Regions from separate parts of the Homo sapiens genome. Here region 2 is linked to region 1. The links are contacts of gene promoters, found by promoter capture Hi-C in blood cells and fetal thymus (Javierre and others, 2016). All regions are on one chromosome and are shown on one strand. The core of a region is centred on a gene start or on the middle of the fragment in contact, and the rest is flanking DNA. Distances in the headings are between cores, read along the strand shown.

Region 1 (4,553 bases), core at 2,054-4,553:
CAGCCTCCCAAAGTGTTGGGATTACAGGCATGAGCCACCGTGCCCGGCCATAAGTAGTCTTGTATCTTTTTGAGATTGTTAAAGCAAGTTGTTTTTCCTTCCTGTTAGAACTTTATCATTTCATCTCAGTTTCTAAACTAAGTAGAGCGGTTACTCTTGGAGGTTTTTGGGCTGTGTAATGGGTTCATGCATATTCATTATATTAAAACATAGGACATTTAAAAGGGCCACTTGGACTAACAATGGCAGCATATCTTAAATCAAGGATTATGAGTAACCTGAATCTATAATCTCAAGTTCTATTGAAAATGCATATTTGTTCAAAATATGAGGGAGTGAATCTATCTTGGTGCCCAGGGGCAAACATTTTCCAAAGGTGAATCTTCTAGGATTCACACAGATAGGCCCAAATGGGAACTGTTCAGGTAACCCAGCCTTGCATCTTTCCCCAGTTCAGACTCTGGAAGAAAGTCCTTGAAGATCTCTGGACATTTGTCCAGGATTAAGCAAAAGCCACAGCAAGTTTCTTTCACTCGCATCAGTGTGAAGAGACCACCAAACAGGCTTTGTGTGAGCAATAAAGCTTTTTAATCACCTGGGTGCAGGCGGGCTGAGTCCGAAAAGAGAGTCAGTGAAGGGAGATAGGCGTGGGGCCGTTTTATAGGATTTGGGCAGGTAAAGGAAAATTACAGTCAAAGGGGGTTGTTCTCTGGTGGGCAGGTGTGGAGGGGGGGATCACAAGGTGCTCAGTGGGGGAGCTTTTTGAGCCAGGATGAGCCAGGAGAAGGAATTTCACAAGGTAATGTCATCAGTTAAGGCAGGACCTGCCATTTTCACTTCTTTTGTAGTGGAATGTCATCAGTTAAGGCAAGGACCAGCCATCTGGATGTGTACATGCAGGTCACAGGGGATATGATGGCTTAGCTTTGGCTCAGAGGCCTGACAGTTTCCAATAGAACATAACAGGCAGCAGAGAAGACAGAGACTGAAAGAGCATCCTGGGGGAGATGGAATTGTGACAAACTAAACCAGTGAGCCGAAATTAAGGCTAGCCCTGTGGCATGACTGGCTCTTGTGCAAGTGACATTATTATGTGACATATTATATGTCTGGGTCATTACTATGCTAAAATAAGTAGATTAAAATGAAAGGAATTTCCAAACAAATGCGGGAAGGAAGGCATTATGAAGTTTTCAGATGTCATTAGCTATAACAAAGTTCAGAATTAATCATGACACCATGCAAAATGGGAAAAATTTGCAAGCAAGGAGAGGGTGGAGATGCCAGAACCCGTAAATTTATGCCAGCTGAGCACTGTGGGGGCACCTGGCAAATGGATTTACTATTTTGCCAACACCAGTAAAGTGTTACAAAATTGCAAACGGAATTATTTCTATGCAAACAATTGTTTTTAAAAAGGGTCCCTACATCGACTAATGCAATTCAGTTTTTTTCTGGGTAAGCACAAAGCCAGAAACTAAATGAAAAATATTAGAAATTATTTTTCTTGGAATCATGTTGAATATTAAAATTGAGATTTACTTTCCTCCCCAATTCCCTCTCTCTCCCATCAGTCTTTTCATGCACCAATGTCATTTTAGTTTTCGTGGTAAAAGAGGTGGTGAAAAAGGGGCAGGGGCATTTGAGAGAGTAGGCGAAGGGAGGCTGGGGATTCCAGAAAAGGAAAAGATGGGGAGTCGCTCAATTAAACTCTACCACCTTCATCTGTTAACAGGGATTCTTGCCTGTCTCGACCCACTTCCAGAGGCAATGCCATATTATTTGAGAAAGCTGGATATAAAATTTGAGCTCTGCTGTCCTTGTCCCAATCCCCCTCCCCAGGAGAAAAAATAAGCTGAACTGTACTCGTGACATTATGGGTTTTTCTGGAAAACAAGGATAAATAAGTTTTTTGAACATTTTTCTCCCCTGAAACTAAATCCGTAAGAGAGTTAAAAACCCGTGGAAAGCGAGTTAAGTCACTTTTCAAGTCTTTGTACTCAGGGGATTCTGTAAGACTCATGGAAGAATAATGGCGCAAACAGCAATATTTTAATGTTAGAACGGTCCTCTGAAAAGTCTGCCCGAAACGCTACAAAGATAATTGTGCAGTAACTTCTAAAAACTCTACTGGGACAGGAGGCAACAAAACTCCGGATCAGCGAGAGCTCTGTTTATCCGAGGGTGCTGAGCCTCAGGCCCCACGGAGATTCCCTTTTCGGCACTTGGAGGCCTGAACTCAGGTCTAACCTTTCGTGTGCGCGCTCTGATACTCAACCACCGTTCAGTCTCCGGAGGCTGTTACAACTGTCCCCATTCTACAGATGAAGTTGAGGCTACAGCTTAGTGTTCTTGGGGAGGGAGGGAGTTGGGGGGAGAGAGAGACGCTTTTCCTCATAACCTTAAACAAAAGTACTTAAACCTAAAGCAACTGAAAAATGATTTTCTTTCAACAACGGTGTTTCCTTTGGGGTCAAGTTCTTTGATCTCATCTACAAAACCAAGAAGCGGGACAAGTATTTTTCTGCAAATTAGAACGGGGCGTTCCCCTCCCCCATCACCCCAATTCCAGAGGACGTCAATCACAGTGGACGCAGCACCGCGAGCGGAAATGCGGAGAGCATCGGGGCTCCGCATGTGGGGCACAATGAAACAAGAGCAGCCCCGGCCAGAGGTCCAGTAAAGCGGAAAGACGGTCCCGCCCGCACACCCCTCCGGAAAACTGAAGCGTCTCCTCTGACCCCCAAGGTCAGAAAGATTTATTACTTCCTTCGAGAGGGCGCAGCCACAGACCCACTAGAGAGGGCGGGCAGGGTGTCGGAAGCCAGAGAACGGCGCTCCGCGTCCTCCCACCGCTCCAGGGCGCAGAGGTGTCCTCAGTGCCCGGAGAGGTTGGCAGTGTCGGCCCCGAGGGAAGCGTGGAGCGGACGGCCGACAGGGGATTTCTGCCCAAACTTCATCACCAACTCTTTCTGAGAGCAAAAACATGGGGCCGAGTCCGGCAGCTGCACGCAGAATCCAACTCTCTGGCAGCTCTCGGCACCGACGAGCTCCAGATCCCGCGTTCGCATCCCGGCGCTTTGCGCGCAGAGCTAAGCCTTCGGACCCGTGGACTGCAGCCCCCGCGCGTCGCGGTAAAGCGGGTCGCGTCTCCAGCCCCCGAGGCGCAGCGACGGTGGGAGCCGGCTCGGCGTTGGGGGCGGGGGCGGGGCCGGCGAAGGGGGAGGGCTGCGCGGCGGAGGGGAGGAGCCGCGGCGACAGACGGCGGCGCGCACCAACCGGGCGCCGGCTGGCAGGAGCCGCGCAGAGGCTGGTCCGAGCGCGTTGCGGGCGCCCGGCGTAAGGGGAGTCGGGTAGCAGCATCCTCCTGGGCGCCGCTTTCGCGCGGCGGCGGCGGCTGCGGCGGGGTCTTTCTTTGCTTAAATACCTCGTTGGCCAGAAGCGCTGGTACCGGGGGCGGGTTGGGTCGGGTCGGGCAGTGCTGCACACCTGGGTTTCCTTGCCTAGAGCTGTGTGTTCGGGGTCCTTTGGTCCAGTCGGAGGCTGCGGAGCGGCGGGGGTTGCCTGCGCTGTCCGCCCGGGCATCCTCCCGGTGATGGAAGCAGCCGCCGCCGCCGCTGCGGGGTCGCGCTGTGCCCCATCCACCGCTGCCAGAGAGGTGGGAAAATTCGCCGCACGGAGGCCGAAAGCGAGAGGGGCTGCGCCGCTATGCCGGGAGCTGAGTCCCATATAAGCCGCCCCCAGCCATCGCCCCCAGCCGGCTTCGTTCCCCTGAGCGAGACAGGAAGCTGCGGTCCCGAGAAAGCGGAGGAGACGTCGCTGGAGCCGGGAGGCGCCGGGTTCGGCGGAGCGCGGAGCGGGGCTCTGGGCCGCGTGAAAGTTTTTCTTCCCGAGCCGCAGGGCGCCCGCTGCCCGGAAACTGCCCAGGGATAAGTCGGCCGACTCCCCAGACCCCTCGAAGGTGCGGGGACCCCCAGCGGAAGCGAGAGGGAGCGAAATCGAGGAACGAGTGACAGCCGGACAGTCCGCCGGGCGGTGATCCGGGGCCGCTCCCGGGCGCGCCCTCGGCTCCAGGTGAGCGGAGGAACCGGGCAGAACCGAGGGTGGGCGTTACTTAGGAGGAGGAGGCTGGGAGGGAGATTGGGGCGCATCCGCTCACTCCGCTTCCCCTCGCAGGTCCTACCCGGAGCCGCTGCCATGGGAGAGCCAGCCTTGGGCGCTGGGGACCAGCCGCCGCGCCCGCCTCGGAGTCGCGGCCCGAGTCCCGGCGCCAGCAGCCAGCCCGCTGCGTCCCCTTCCCGGGCTGCAGGGCTGCCTCCGCCGCGCCGCCGGCCCGGATTGTGCCTGTGATGAGCCGCAGCCCGCAGCGAGCTCTGCCCCCGGGCGCGCTCCCTCGGCTGCTCCAGGCTGCGCCTGCAGCCGCGCCGCGTGCCCTGCTCCCGCAGTGGCCCCGGCGCCCAGGACGCCGCTGGCCCGCGTCCCCTCTCGGAATGAAGGTGTTCCGTAGGAAGGCGCTGGTGTTGTGCGCGGGCTATGCACTGCTGCTGGTGCTC
Region 2 (4,553 bases), core at 1,125-3,624, 310 kb after region 1:
TCCAACTTGAGATGTCATAATAGGACTGTGTGAAAGCAGCTTTTGCCTGACAATAGGAAGAGAAAAGGAGGGGAGAAGGTAGAACAGATAAAAGGCAGAGCCTGGCGGAGTCTATTTGTAAGGAGCAGAGTGGAAAGAGAAGTCCATCCCTGCTACCTTTCTAACCACAGTTCAGGCAGTTCATTTTTACATACACTTAGTGAACCAGACATGTCTCTGCTCTCAGCAAGCCCACAGTCTAGTGGATGATACCAAGAGGCAGCTTCTCTCCATCACTCTGCACATCAGATACCTGCTTGCAGAGGTCTGAGAGGAGGGGAGTGCACACCCAGATGGAGATCACCCCTCCAGAGGGGGAGGCTGAGTGTGTGTGGAGTCCTAGTCCTCAGAGCGTGTGTAGGATGAGGCTTCTGCATCAATGCCACGCATGACAGCAGCTAAGCGCTAGTAATACCAGAAGTCAGTACACAGTCAAGTTGTGTTCTCTCACTTGGCCATATAGACCAGGAGAGCAAGGAGGGCCTTAGAGGTCATATCTTTCAAATTTGTTACTTTACAGATGAAGAAACTGAAGCCCAAAAGATGTACTGATTCACTGGATCATGAATGGCAGAGCTAGAAACTGAAACCAGCCACTCTGGTGCCCTGCCCATTCCAAGTTTAGGTTCAAGCCACAGCGGCTTGACAGCTATTAGAATAAGAATGCATCTAGGGGAGAGGGCATTTTCAGTCTTATCAGTTGTTTACACTTCAAAGTTAATGACTTCATCAGAACCTTTTGGAGAACAGATTTGGAAAGAGGGTGAAGAGAGATAGGCACCTGGGATCAAGGAAAACAGGTTGTGACCACCAAAGTCAAGCTTTGCTGACTCCCAGTGGGGCTCATTAATGCACAGCCACAAGTTCTGACCCCATCCCCCAGCCTGTGTGTCTTAATGCTTTATCACTTGGAAGGGGAGGATAGAAACCTCTTTTGACAAAACAGAAGTGACTGCCAGAGTCCCAAGGAAATTCTGAGGGTTACATACACTCACACACACCTTTCTCTTATGGAGAGGCAGATTCCATTGCTGGCATAGGGCCTGGTCCCTACTGTTGAATCAGTGATGTTCACAGGCATGCAGGAAAGGCGGGACTTGGAGGCCCTAGCTAGTCTACCTGGGGCCCTGTGGAAGGGGCAGGGCAGTGATAGCCATAGTGGAGAGTGGGTGCTTCAGCAGCTGTTCTTTTGCTGAGCCCAGATCTGAGAGGGGGAGGCCAATGAAGCTGCATGTGGCCCTCTGGGGGAAGCATCATCTTCACTCACATTGGATAGATTTAAGAATTTGTGTTGGCACTGTTGGTTAGCTGACATACACCATATCCACCACCCTTTCAGCTGAGCCACCTTCCAGGTGGGCATGGTCACGTGACCCAGTTGGGCTAGGCAGACTCAAGCTGAAGTCTGTTGGGTAGGGTTTCTAGGAGATTTGCTTTCCCAATTTAAAAAAGGGAGAGCTAGATTCACCTGACATGCTGCTCTCTTCCTTTTTCCTTCCCACAACATGGATACACAGCAGCACTCTTTAGAACCAGCACAAGCCATTACAACAAGGATGACAAAAAGAGCCTCATCACTGATTTTATCCACTAGTTTTGGACTGCTTCCTCTAGGTTTCCTAATACATGAGAAAAATAAGAACCTATTTGTTTAGGCCACATAGTTGGGCATTTTCTTGGCTTTATAAAAGGCATCAGTCCTGGTGGTACTCAAGGCCTTTCACAGTCTGGTGCCCCTAAATCTTTCTCATCTCACCTCCTGCCATCTGCCTTCCTTCTCTAAGTCCCTTTCCTTCAATTCACAAGTCACAGCCCTGGGAAGCCTTCCCTGGAAGAACTAGTTGCACACAGTGCTTTGAGCTCCAGCTTCGTTTATGCCACTATAGCACATAGAACCATGAATTATTTGTTGATTTTCCCAGATTCCTGCAGTCATCTCTTAATTCAACTCTCAGCCCCTACCTTTGCCTCCCTGTAGAATACAGTGTATTCTCAAGACAGCAGAGGAGTTCTTTCAAATTGCCAGTTAGATCACATCCCTTGTTGCGAAATCCTCCAGTAGCTGCCCCCACCTTTTTTTTTTTTTTTGCGATGGAGTCTCGCTCTGTCACCCAGGCTGGAGTACAGTGGTGCAATCTTGGCTCCCTGCAAGCTCCGCCTCCCAGGTTCAGGCCATTCTCCTGCCTCAGCCTCCTGAGTGGCTGGACTACAGGCACCCGCCACCATGCCCGGCTAATTTTTTGTATTTTTAATAGATATGGGGTTTTACCGTGTTAGCCAGGATGGTCTTGATCTCCCGACCTCGTGACCCAATTCTTAAAGTGAAAGGCCGAGTCCTTACAATGGCTTATAAGGCCCTGTATGATCTTCCCACCCCTCTTACTTCTCTAAACTCAGCCCCTCCTACTCTCCTACATGCTCACCCTTCAGCCTCACTGGCCCACTTGATGTTCCTCCAATTTGCCAGGTACATCTCACCTTACAGTCTTTGCATAAGCTATTGCCACTGCTAAAATGCTCTTCCTCCTCCCAGTCTTTACTCAAGAGATAACTTCTCAGTGAGGCCTACTTGGACTACCTAATTCAAATCACAGCCCAATCCCATCCCTATAACCCAGCCTCCATTCTCTCTTCCTCTGCTCAATTTTTTTTTCTGTACCACTTATCACCTGATATACTATATAATTTGCCCATTTGTTAAGCTAATTTCTCACGGCTTATTTTCTCTTGCCAAAATGAAAACACCCTGAGCACAGGCATTTTTGTTTATTTCAAATGCTCAGAACAGTGCTTGGCACACATGTATTTGTTAAGTGTGTGAATAAATTGATTTGTATAAGATGACTACACACCGGGTAATTACTATGTTCTAAACTCTCTCAGCTCCTGATGATGTATGTAGTGGGAACAGGCCCTGGAAAGGTTCTCAGTGCAGTAAACTCTTTGCCCATTCCAGTTACCTCAACTAGACTAGGCTCATTAATAGGCACAGGGCAAGTATTATCAAATACAGGAAAAATGAGAACTGCAACACTGATTTCTGAAAAACTATCTCATTACAATCACATTCCTACTTCATGCAGAAAAGGAAAACTGGAACAGTTCCAGGGTTTGGAGAGCTTTACCGAGAAAAGGTTGTTAAAACAAGCAGGCTGCCCTGGAATCAGTATTTGAAGGGCTCTCTTCCCCCTAGAATGGTGGCCACCTGGCTGATCTTGCCCACATTATTTTTTTGAGACGGAGTCTCATTCTGTTGCCAGGCTGGAGTGCAGTGGCGTGATCTTGGCTCACTGCAACCTCCGCCTCCCAGGTTCAAGCGATTCTCCTGCCTCAGACTCCCAAGTAGCTCGGACTACAGGTATATACCCCCACACCCGGCTAATTTTTGTATTTTTAGTAGAGATAGGGTTTCACCATGTTAGCTAGGATGGTCTTGATCTCCTGACCTCATGATCCCCCCACCTTGGCCTTCCAAAGTGCTGGGATTACAGGCATAAGCTACTGCGCCTGGCCTCTTGCCTGCATTTTATTCCAACTGAAGGCATTTCTTACCTTTGGACTCAAAACATGCTCTGATTAGACCAGCAGCACCAATCAGCCCTGGTGGTGTTTCAAAGAACTTTCCTTCCTTTGAACTTAACAGTGAAAGGGAGGTTAGCCTTAACAATGAAAGGTTATTTAGATATATCTTTTTGGCCAACCCTTTTATGCAAATCTAACTGCACTTGATGACAGAAATCAATCTTGATAAGTTTGCTCTTGATTTCATGGAAGGGTGGACAGTTCATGTAACAAAGTTTTCTTTAGTTTCCTGACGTGTTTCAGGGCAATAAGAAATCCTATCGACTTTGAAGCTTTTTAAAAGAGATGGTTGCTGGGTTCTTTGGGGGGAATTTATCCCACAAACAGCATGAAGATTTATTTTCATTCAAAAAATTGTGATTTTTTTGTGTGTTTTGACTCTGCTTATCTCTTCAGTGGAAAAGTACTTTGTAACTGATAAGCACTTCAGCAGATCAAGGAGATTCATTACCCTGGCAGTTTTTCATTTTCAGATAGAAATGAGTAGAAATTATCCAATTTCTCTTTTTATAATAACGTCCAATACATTTAGTGTTCAATTTCACACTGTCCCTTGATTTATAGCATTTGCCAGATTAATCGAGATCTGGTGATATTATAAAAGGTGGGGGTGTTCTGTTAACCCTTTAAGCCCAGGAGGCAGGCATACAGAACACCATGGGAAATACACTGACTCTGAAACATACTCCAGAAAGCAATTAACTTATGTTCTATTCGTGTTTCTATCTTGTCCTACCCAGCTCCAAATCTTGAGGAAATATGCAGATTCCTGACAGCAGCAGAATCTTTCAGAAAGGAGTCTCAGAAAACTTTATTAGAACCAACTGGAAAGTAAGCTGGAAGGTGCATATGAAACCTTTCGAATTCTGATGGTTTTGAAGTATAGATAACCTATATCTTCTATACCTTTGCATGCCAGGTTTTTATGAGGA

Evidence for each region. Contacts are between HindIII fragments. The CHiCAGO score rates a contact against its expected background, and 5 or more counts as called.
Region 2: a contact is called between a fragment that was not itself captured here and the fragment with the promoter of CHST2 in region 1, in 1 of 17 cell types (fetal thymus). The highest score is 5.2, in fetal thymus.

The regions. Positions count from the first base shown.
Region 1 is chr3:143,116,468-143,121,020 of GRCh38, forward strand. It overlaps CHST2 (carbohydrate sulfotransferase 2), which reads left to right and starts at 3,304. Exons shown (of 2, transcript NM_004267.5): 1 at 3,304-4,074; 2 at 4,177-4,553. The coding sequence starts at 4,350. RefSeq lists enhancers at 2,360-2,861, 2,537-2,666, 2,862-3,361, 3,647-3,696, 4,020-4,553 and silencers at 3,127-3,416, 3,907-3,956, 3,987-4,036, 4,087-4,166, 4,227-4,426 and 1 more. The HindIII fragment of the contact is 4,891 bases long and covers 582-4,553 here.
Region 2 is chr3:143,429,374-143,433,926 of GRCh38, forward strand. The region is part of intron 12 of SLC9A9 (solute carrier family 9 member A9); the gene reads right to left. Among named protein-coding and RNA genes, the nearest start is that of SLC9A9-AS1, 89 kb to the left of the region's middle. RefSeq lists an enhancer at 528-1,048. The HindIII fragment of the contact is 3,033 bases long and covers 859-3,891 here.